Regions from separate parts of the Homo sapiens genome. Here region 1 is linked to region 2. Evidence: promoter capture Hi-C in 16 types of primary human blood cells and fetal thymus (Javierre and others, 2016). All regions are on one chromosome and are shown on one strand. Each heading gives the region's core, a stretch centred on a gene start or on the middle of the fragment in contact. The rest is flanking DNA. Distances are from core to core; before and after follow the strand shown.

Region 1 (5,305 bases), core at 934-3,433, 140 kb before region 2:
TAAACAACTACACAGGATGTGCACGTGTGTGTGTGCGTGTATGTATATATATATGTACAGTATATATACAGTGTATATGGTTAGCAAATCAGGAGGTTTCAGGGATCACATCCTTTCAAGTCTGCACAATGCCCAGCGCAGAGCCATGCACACGTGCCACTTCACTGATGGTGATGGCGGTGACAGGGATGCGGTTGAGCACGCAGCCGAGGACAGAGCAGTGCCGGAAAAGCCTCCCCTTCCCCTGGCCCCTGTGCCACTCCTGAGAGCACCCCCTGCTGCTCCTGGATCTCTCATGATTTTCTCCTCTGCCCCGCTAGGGTGTTGTGCCCAACATACCTTTTCTAAAAGCTCCTGGTTTCTCTTAATGAAAAGTTGTTTATCTTCTACCCAGTGTGAATCCTGTTTGACAAAGAATATCGCGCAGTCAGCATTTCAGAGTGGCACGAAAGAGCCTGTGTTGTCAAACCACTTTGCCAGAGCTGCCTTCTCCCCACCCTGTTTGTTTGCCTGCCAAAGACTGGTAAGTAGCACCCACCCCTGCCAGCTCCTTCAAAGAAATTGGGGCCAAAGTTGCCGGGAAAATTTAACCCCCTTTTCATCATCACTCCCTATTTCTACCTTTTCCAGTTTGAATAATCCAGGACCAGCCTTCTGGGGACTCAGAAGTGACCACACAGGCAAAAAGTGAAAAGGGTCAGAATGCACACAGGCTAGATACATATGGATGGAAAACATTAAAATGCAGAACCATAAATGTAGCATAGAGGCAAAGAACGCAGCTGGAGGGGTGGGTCTTGGTCTTAGCAGCTTATGACAACTCTAGGCTATTTGTACAGGGTTCCTCTTCCTCTGGCATTCTCTCTCTTGCCCAAGCTCATTCACTGTTGTGGCTGGGTTCATACTCTGGCCAGAAAAACACCAGAGACAGAAGTACAGAGTTGAACATTCTAACGCAGTTCGAGAAAGATCACTGTGGAGAGCCAAGCTGTGTCCTGGGTGCGGCCCATGCACAGGTGAGCTACAGGAAGGTCAGATTGAATTGTCTGCATCTGCAGAAGAGCTAGCAACCAAATGCCTACCTGCCCTTTCTGAGCCAGAGTCGCTTCCAGGTCTTCAATTTTGGCTTTATACCTTAGCACCTCTGCTTGGAGCTGTTCTTGAGCCTGGTGAAACCAAAATTCCAGAACTCAGCAAGTAAAATGGTTATTCAATACCTTTCTTGACTAGAACTCAACAAGTAAGAGAGAGAGAGAGGAAAAAAAGAAGAATTTTCTATGACAAAAGAATCTTTCTGATCTAAATTCTTGTTTAAAACTCCCTGTAGCATTCTTTATTTTCAGGTTAGTATTCAAACTCGTTAGCTTGGCATTCGAGAACTCCCATTATATTTCCAATCTTTTCCTACTACTCATCAGCCTAGAGCCAAACCCTCACCTGCTGGCATAATTCTTGTTTCCTAAATATGCCTTGTAACTCTCCACTCTTCTCTTTATTTGAATGATTTCTCTTTCATGAAAGCCTTGTTCCATTTTGCCTCCCCAAATTCTTTTGATTTTTTTTTTTTTTTTTTTTGAGACAGAGTCTCACTCTGTTGCCCAGGCTGGAATGCAGTGGCACAATCTCAGCTTACTGCAACCTCCGCCTCCTGGGTTCAAGCAATTCTCCCGCTTCAGCCTCCCAAATAGCTTGGATTACAGGCACCGGCCACCACGCCCAGCTAATTTTTGTATTTTTAGTAGAGATGGGGTTTCACCGTGTTGGCCTGGCTGGTCTCGAACTCCTGACCTCAGATGATCCACCCGTCTCCGCCTCCCAAAGTGCACCCGGCCTTTCCATTCTTTCAGAGCAAACTTTGTGCCTAAATTTAAGTCCCTAAATCAATTTCTCTCTGTCTTTCTCTTTATATATCATATTTTGTGTGTCTGTGTGTGTAAGTAGTTTTGAATACTAATCTTGTATGGAGCAACTTTGTTGTCCTATGTGATTTAGCTTAGTAATTTGTTTCCTGCCTGTAAACCCATTTTTTTGTTGTTGTTTTACAATCTGGATAGGTTTTTTAGTACAAAGTTGAATAAAAACAGCGATGAAAGATATCCTTATTCATTGTGAGGAGAATAATTCTTTTGATTGTTAAATATTACATTTACCTCTATCAGGTCCAAAAAATAATTAATTTTGCTAAGATTTATTTTAACTGTGAATTGATGTTGACTGTAACCTATTTTTTCTTGTACCTAATTTTATCTTTTGTTTTCAACGATGCTTTCATCTGTATTATTTTTTAATTTCTAGTCTCTTTAAATTTACTCTGTTGTTCTTTTTCTAACATCTTTATTTCTTGTAGATTATTTTTCTAAGAATGGTAAGTTTTCCTGACTTTAATGGTCAGAGAGAACGCTAAACCTTTATTTAGGTAGAAGAATTAAATGACACAGGGAGGAATCTCCAAAAAGTAAAAGAAGTCTCCTTTTTTTGGAGGAATCTCCAAAAAATAAAAATAAAATAATATGCTATTATTTTAATTCCCCAATCCATGTTGGTAAGAACACTTAACCACAAATATTATAGCACTGGGGCATATATATGACAGCCTACAGGCACATTCCTTTGTAATGATTGCTTGCCTGTTCTAAATTGGTGTTTTTTAAAAACCTGCTTATTTACTTATATATGTGTGTGTGCATGCTACTGTTGAAAAATGTATAACTGCGTTACATCTACCCTTTCCCACTGAACAATAGTAGTTCTACAAAACTCCTCAGTGCATTGTAGACCCTCCAGAAAGAAAGTAGGATGAAATCACTGGGTGGTCTCGGTGGTCATGCTGCCTTTTGGCTCATGTAAATTTACCTAGGAGGCAATTATAGCCTGGTGATTATGACTGTGAAGTCACAAGGCTAGGAAACCTAGGTAAACCTAGGTAAATAATTTAACTTCACTAAACTACATTTAACTTCTACTAAGCTATTATTTCCTCTTCTATAGAAAGAAGATAATAATCATATCTAGCTCCTAGGGTTGTTTTAGGATTATATAGATAATGTGTGTAAAATGTTCAACACAATGCCTGGAACACAGCAAGCACTCAATAAATATTAAGAATTAGTATAGTACATGTCTATCTTTTCTTTTTGTTGAAATAGGCTCATGAGAGGCAGTTATGATATAAAGGAAAGAACATTTGACCCAGTAAGACTTAAGTTGTAATATCAGCTTTGCCATTTACTATTTGTGCTATTTGGGGCAATTCAATTAACCTCTCTGAGTGTCAAATTTCTCTTTTATAAAATATCTGCCTTAGGGGACTGTCTCAAGGGTTAAATGAGATAGTGTCTGTGAAAATTCTGGTAAGTTGTCATACGTAAACGCTGGGCACTTATTAACGAAGAGAAGACACTGGCTCACTATTGCTTTTGAAAGATAAAAAAGTTCTTTTTCTAAGCAAGAAACTAAAAAATGGCTTAACAAAATCCAATATTGTCTAGCTTTGAAAATGTATGTTTTCAAACAGCAAGAACAAGAACTATGTACTCAACTATCTTTAAAAGAACAAAAGCATTGATCTAAGCTGGTTCTAATGTTTCTAGAGTCAAGGTTTGTTGACATAAAAGCTATAACAATTCAAAAGCTGCAGAGGAGAGAAGAATACAGGGAAAGCTGTCTTATTGATATTTTTATGTCCACAGTGCTTTTATGCTGTGACTGCTGCACGCTAATTCAGAGCACTCTCACAGATACACACTAACCTTGGCTTCTCGTTCAGCGTCGATGATGCCTCCCGTCTGCTCCTGTAGGAGGGCATATGCTCTTTGGAGGGCCTGATATTCTTTTGTTAATTGTCGAAATCTTAGTTCAGATTCTTCAGCTGCTAAACTCTTGAGGTTAAGAAAAAAAGCCCCAAAACAATTGTGTTATGTTCAGGTCCTGTTTTCAATGTGAAATATTAACATTTGCCCACTTTTTACAAGAAGTAAAAGGTTGTTTAACAGTCTATTTGATTTTATTTTTAGCTCTGAAGTGTATATACGGGCACAAATACTGTAATACTTTCAAGATGGACACTGCAGAAATACATAAATATTTATTTTAGTAAAAGAAGCATTTAGCATTTGATACATTTCTCATTGTTAATCATTTGAGCTTAGAATGTAGTCAATTTTGGATCCAAATAAGAAAAAGTCATATCCAGATTTTGGACCTAAATTTGAGGAAATGATACCCTAGAATTTTCTTATTTCTTTTCAGTATGTTCATCTCCAGCAACTTGTTTTTTCCCCCAGATAAATCATAAAATCTGTTTTATTGCATTACATCTTAAACTTCAGGACATAACATAATCAGCAGGGAATTTTGGGAAACAATGCAGACTGGGGTGTTTCACTCCTAAGATCCTGAGTCAGGAGTTGCATGGTAGAGTCCAGGACTTTTCATTGTAACTGAGCCCTCTAGATCATTCTGATGAGGATGGTCCACAGAACACACTTCACTCAACAGTGTCAGACCACATCCAAAAGCCTGCTAAGGCCTCTTGGGTTCCTACCTTCCCTAGATAAAGAATATTGGAAAGTAACTTTTATTTTGAAAGAAGTCTTCAAATTAGAGAGTTGAACTGGAGAGAAATTTCTAAAAGGTTTACCTGCTATAAGTGAAGCTATTTTTCAAGAGATAATAAAGTGCAGCCTCAAAATTGTTTACTATTATGAGATCACTTTGTGCTGTTTATATAAAGGAGATGAAAAGTGAAATCCTTTTTCTTCCCCCTTAAATCAAAGATTTGGTGACAATATCACCCTAGGCTAGAGAAGTAGAAAAGCTTACTTCATCCAAGTCATCATCAGGAGTAGCTGGTGTTCTGTCTGTTCTAAATGAGGCCATGGATGATGTCTCTGAATCCATAGAGTCCTCATCATAGCCAATAAACGGGTCCAAAACAGGCCTCTAAATGGAGGGAAAGTACCTATTTACTGACATAGCTAACAGTAGGGAAAGTTGAACGTTAAAATACTGTCAACTGGCATACGTGTAAGTGAATATAGAAGACATGGATCCTCTATGCTTCTTTGTTGAAATAAAAACATTAGGCATGAGCATAATTCCAATAAGTGTTTCTCTCATATTATTTCACTTCTGACATCTTAAGAAAAATTCATAATATGTAGCTTTTTTCATAGAAACACTGAAACCTCTTTCATATTACATTTTATATCATGATGAGCTAGTGTGGTTTACTCTTTCCTGTATTTAAACTATGACCAAAGGATTTTGAAAACTCAGGTATCTATGTGATGGAGATGATCAAATC
Region 2 (5,216 bases), core at 2,543-5,042:
TAATAGTGGAATGTGTAAACAGGGAATTGCAACACACTTCACAGAGTAACAACCAAGTATAAACCTAATTTATGTCTTTCAGTAAAAGACCATCATTGCGTTATTTATGTTAAAACTTCCACAGTAAGCTCCAACCATGAGAAACAAAGCATTGACTTTTCATGAACCAAAAAGAAATGTAGAAAACTGTTAGACTCTCCAAATATTGCCTAAGTCATCCTGAAGCGGACTTGTAGCAGGCACATAAAATCAAAATATGTTCTGATGTCACTTGAAATAAGAAACATCCTATTACAAAGTGAGAAATTAATTAGTGTGTCTTAATTAAAACAAGTTTTACTAAAGACTTACATACCAATCAAAATATTTAACTTTAATATTCTAACATGAATGACATTTTTAAGATAGCATTTGAGTGGAAGATTAGTTTGTTAAACAGCACATTTAAACATTAATTTGTATATACCTTTCATATAATTTGTTTTTTTAAAAAAAACAACTTGATGGCCCTTGAATTACTTTGTACAAAGACCCCATTAAATAACACAGTACATTTTTCAAAATTAACTATACAATATGAAATAATTTTAATATAGGTATTTGACATCATACTCCATAAAGCTGCTGAGAAAGAAGGGCTCTTATGAACAGGTAAATGTTCAGTTTCCTGAATTCTGGCAGGATTACATGTAAATTTCTCTAAGAAGATGATCAGCTGATTTCTTTACAAATACCTAGAACCTGTAATTTAGAAGTCAACTACAAAATGGAGTCTTACTGTTATAACCTAGAAGTGTCTTATCTTAAACAACTAATGTACTCTCTCAAATAAATGACTCACTCTAGAAAAAGCAAGAGAAGTTCTTGAGAAGGAAATCTAGTACATCCTAGACAAATGCATATCTAGGTCATACTTTTGGAGGTTTTGATGAGAGAAGAATTCATTGCTTTATCTGATTAGCCAGTTGACTACTCACACTTACTATGAGGAACTTCTACATTTGCATATTTCTCATCTTCATAATTCCTCATAAAGTTGAAGCCCATTGACTACATTTGAGGTTCCAAAAAATAGCAATAAGCAATGTCCTGTGCTTATGCCCCATGCTTAGCTTATCTGAAACAAACGATTGCCATATTTCATTTTTCTCTTCTCTAAATGAAATGATCCTAGCTTTTAAAAATCTTTCCTCAGAGAGTTCAACTTCTAGTGCTTGAAACACACTTCACTTTTCTATGGCCCCTTAGCAAAGGCCATATAATTGTCTTAAATAGTGGGGTCAAAAGCTAGACCTGTATTTCTATCAGGGTAATAGCTGACACATAGCTGAAACAGGCTATCTACAAGGAGTTTTAAGCACATGGCCTAAGGGATTTGCCTCTGTTCAAACTGTACCAACTTTGCCTATAAAACCACCTCCAAATGAAAACTCAAAAAAAAGAAACAAAAACAAAGCCCCAGGATATCTGCTTTCATTGCATGAAATGGGGTCAACTAGTACAAATCTTAATTTTTTAAGTGTGCTATAGGCATATCTAACATTTTAATTTTTGGAAGTCAAGTGTTATCACTAAAAGATTCAGGATGCAATGTGTTATACAATTTGTTATAACATACAAGCCCAGTACCTCTTTCCTTGCCCTACTTCATATAGTTGTTAAAATTAGGCACAAAGTAGCATGAGTTTACAAAGCTATGGATCTATAATATATAACATGCTATGAGCACATGCACAATTGAGTCACCAAGGGCCCTTCTCATGTATAAACCAAATAGAACAATTATTCTCAGCAAAATTAAACTATAAACCTGGTTCAAATACATGTGAAAATTATAAATGTGGGGGGTGTATGTAGAATCAGATGCAAGACTAAAGACCCAAACAATTGTTATTTTACATTGTAAAAAATGTCTGTACTGACAATGATATTGTTAGAGAAGAGAATAATGGATAAAACTATAATAGCCCATGTGGTAAATGTAATATTACTAATACACTTTACCTACATAATTTTTTCTGGCTTTAATTCAATGAAATCCATTATCCTGGGCGGGAATGGAACCTCCTCATCTCACGCATCTTTAGTCTCCTGAACTGCCTTAAAGCCTTGACATAATAAAAGGTCAAGCAGATCCCAGTAAGCATTTGTAAATTACAATAGACCCCCATTTCAGCTACAAGCCACACATTCTCCTGCTCGCTTTGCTCACTCTCTGGTTTCATTTCATTGTATAAGCAGACTAATTTGGAAACGGCTGGGCTAGGGTGCTTGGGAATACCTAGATTTTCAAAACAATCCTACTTTCCTACTTAATTATTTACAGAAGGAGACCCTTAATACAACATCTGAGAGAACTGTGAAATGGTTCCTGGATACTGAAGGAATGAACATCAGATAGCAGCACTATTAAATAAAATGAATACATTTCACCTTCCAGCTTAGCTGTGCTTCCTGGGACACAAGGCACAAACATGAAAAGGTTGGGGTGGCATTTCAAGAAAACTGATTTGCTTCAACATTGATTTGGTAAGATGCTAGACACAAAATAATACCACAAACCGCCTCCCATTCCCATCATTGTAAATTCAGAGTCCTCAATATCATCCCCCACAAACCCAATTAAAAATAAAGAGGCAGGCTACAAATTTGCATCTAGTTCTATGACACAGATCAAACGATAGGCATCTGTTCCAATCGGTCACAATGAAACTAAGGGACAATAACCAGAGTAAATTTCACATTAATCCAAATAAAGCCAATGAATAATAATATAAACCAGAAGCATAGTTTCAAAAACATGCAATTACTTCCAGGCATGCAAGGACATATGTAACCCATAAAAATGGTTGCAAAGCACACCCTACATATAAATATGCTTCATAAATGCAATATAAATGCTAAGTGACATGTGTATATATGATCTGTATATCCATAAGATATACATGTGTAAGTTCACAGTCAAATCTACGTATAAAATAAAACTGGGTCTTGCAAATGATTTCTCAACAAGAGTATATTAGAATATAAAATAAAATGTCAAATTCTGGGGCCACTTTTTCTAAGCAATCAATAAAATAAGCAAAACCACCTTATAATGAGTCTGGTAAGCTTATGAGACACCAAATGTATTTCTGAAGAAGGCCCAACCCTGTATGTGAGAGCTGCAAATGAAATGATTCCTTTCAATAACACCCTCTTCTTGTTGTTAGCTCTTTTTCCAACCCCTGATGCTGTTGCTAAGCTTAGGAAAAAAGGCACCAAGTGGCTCAGTCTGCATTCTGAGCCAGTTAGAGATAAAATCAGAACACCATTTTTTTTTTTTAAACACAAGAGGTTGTCTTCTCACTTCTCTCTTCCTGGCAAGCTTCCTCTCCCTCCATCCTCATCTCTGTCTCCACATCTCCCCCTTCTAGTCTGAGGCACGGGAGTCATTGTTCAAGTTCAGGCCAGAAATGTATACACAGGTCAAATAAGAACACTCTAAACCAAGAAGGGAGCCCTACTGTTTCCTACTCACCATGCTGAGACCCGGAGAAGCTGTTTAAAGGAGGGAGAGATGCAAACTGAATCCATTTTCCTTGTGACCGAGTCGGATGCAGCCTCCGAACCCAACATCAGCAGTGGCTGCCGGTTTTTTTTTTCCCTCTGTCTCTGGTTGGCGATGGTGCGAATAGGAACCACCCTTCCAGCCCCACTAGAGTATCAGCAATAGAGGCGGCGGCGGCGGCAGCAGCAGCAGCAGCAGCATCACCAGTTGGGCCTCCTCCCTCTCGGAGGATGGGGTGAGCTCGGAAGCAGCCAGGAACTTGCAGCAGACACCTCCTCTGGCTCCTCCTCTCTCTCTCCCCCTCCCCCAGTGCCCCACCCCTGCTGCGGTAGAGGCTGCTGGCCCGGCAGCTGCTGGTTGCCATGGCAATGACCAATGATAAGCGACCAAGCTCAGGGGGAGGGGAGATGGGCGAAGCAAGCTGCAGGGTCTGGAGGGGAGTGAATTTGTGCTGCTGCCCTCTAGGATGCTCTTGATGTCTCCTACCCTGAACTCCAGGTCTTTTTAAAAATGGGGCAAGGGGGGCTAGGCACGGGGAGAGAATAATTAAAATTTAATTGAAATCTAGATAGAAACATACCAACGGCTTAGCTATTTTTTGCATTTTCTGTGGTTTTCCAATAAAAAGTATGAAATTTATTATCAGAAAAATAACAACAAATGTGGAGAAAATTATGTCGCATAATAGCAGATTATTATTACTTCCAAACGTGTTCGTCCTTTATAGCATCTTTTACTCAATACCAGGCAACAAGGTTTTTAGAAAGCAAACGGAGTGGCTGGACTTTGTAATAAATTAAGAGTCTGGTTGATTCCTTTGCACTACTCCCGGCTTGTTCTCAGGTGAGTTACTTGGTTTCACTGTTTTTCCAGCTACCCTTCTGAACAGGACTTGGAGGTAATTGACACATCCCTGAGGAAAAGTAAGTTTGGATAGAGACCGAAATTCCTTTCAACAACCACTATTCTCGGTAGCACAAGTTGGTGGACAGTTCCCAATCTTTTTAGTGTCAAACTCCTGGAGCATTCAATTTCCTGCAGGCAATTCCTGTCGTTTTCATGGATGCCTTTTTGGAGTTCCGAAGTCAGTTGGCAGTCAGGGTGGTGGGCAGGAAAAGGGGGAAGTGAAATCAGCAATGTCCAGTTCTAGGCGAGTTCTGTTTCTAACTATAAATTATAGATGACACCAGTATTTATCTCGTGGAGGGGTTGTAAAGATTGAATGAGATAATGCACTAAAAGCACTTGGCATATAGTAAGTGTACAATAAATATTTACTATTAGCAGCATAGTAGTACATTGCAGCCATCTCTTAATCTAAGGGTTTAAGGGGAATAACATGGCAATTTCAGGTAGGAGAAAAAATTAAGATGAGAAAATCCAAAGTACGTAATAACCATGATGATGATGGCAAAGACAGAGAGGCCCTAAGAGATTAAGTGTTCTCTACATCTTGATATTTGAGGACATTGTAAATCTCAGAGGAGTTAGATACATTTCCCAAATTCACAACTGATAAACGACAGAACCGGAATCAAAATGGACTCTTCTAACACTTACATTTGCTCTCCTAACCACCACACTTTTCTGCCACTCCTCCATAAAATGGAAATAATCTTTGTTCTTAATCCACAGAGTTATTTACAGGTTCAAATGGGTTTAACAC

What was found. The method cuts DNA at HindIII sites, captures the fragments that hold promoters and counts their contacts. A CHiCAGO score of 5 or more calls a contact.
Region 1: a contact is called between a fragment that was not itself captured here and the fragment with the promoter of JAKMIP2 in region 2, in 5 of 17 cell types (megakaryocytes, fetal thymus, naive B cells and 2 more). The highest score is 7.3, in megakaryocytes.

Annotation. Positions count from the first base shown.
Region 1 is chr5:147,635,883-147,641,187 of GRCh38, forward strand. JAKMIP2 (janus kinase and microtubule interacting protein 2) reads right to left here. Exons shown (of 22, transcript NM_001270941.2): 9 at 4,822-4,941; 10 at 3,750-3,878; 11 at 1,083-1,166; 12 at 340-402. All of the region lies in intron 3 of JAKMIP2-AS1 (JAKMIP2 antisense RNA 1), which reads left to right. Among named protein-coding and RNA genes, the nearest start is that of JAKMIP2-AS1, 79 kb to the left of the region's middle. The HindIII fragment of the contact is 5,262 bases long and covers 1-4,814 here.
Region 2 is chr5:147,778,936-147,784,151 of GRCh38, forward strand. It overlaps JAKMIP2 (janus kinase and microtubule interacting protein 2), which reads right to left and starts at 3,793. Exons shown (of 22, transcript NM_001270941.2): 1 at 3,521-3,793. The HindIII fragment of the contact is 4,284 bases long and covers 3,366-5,216 here.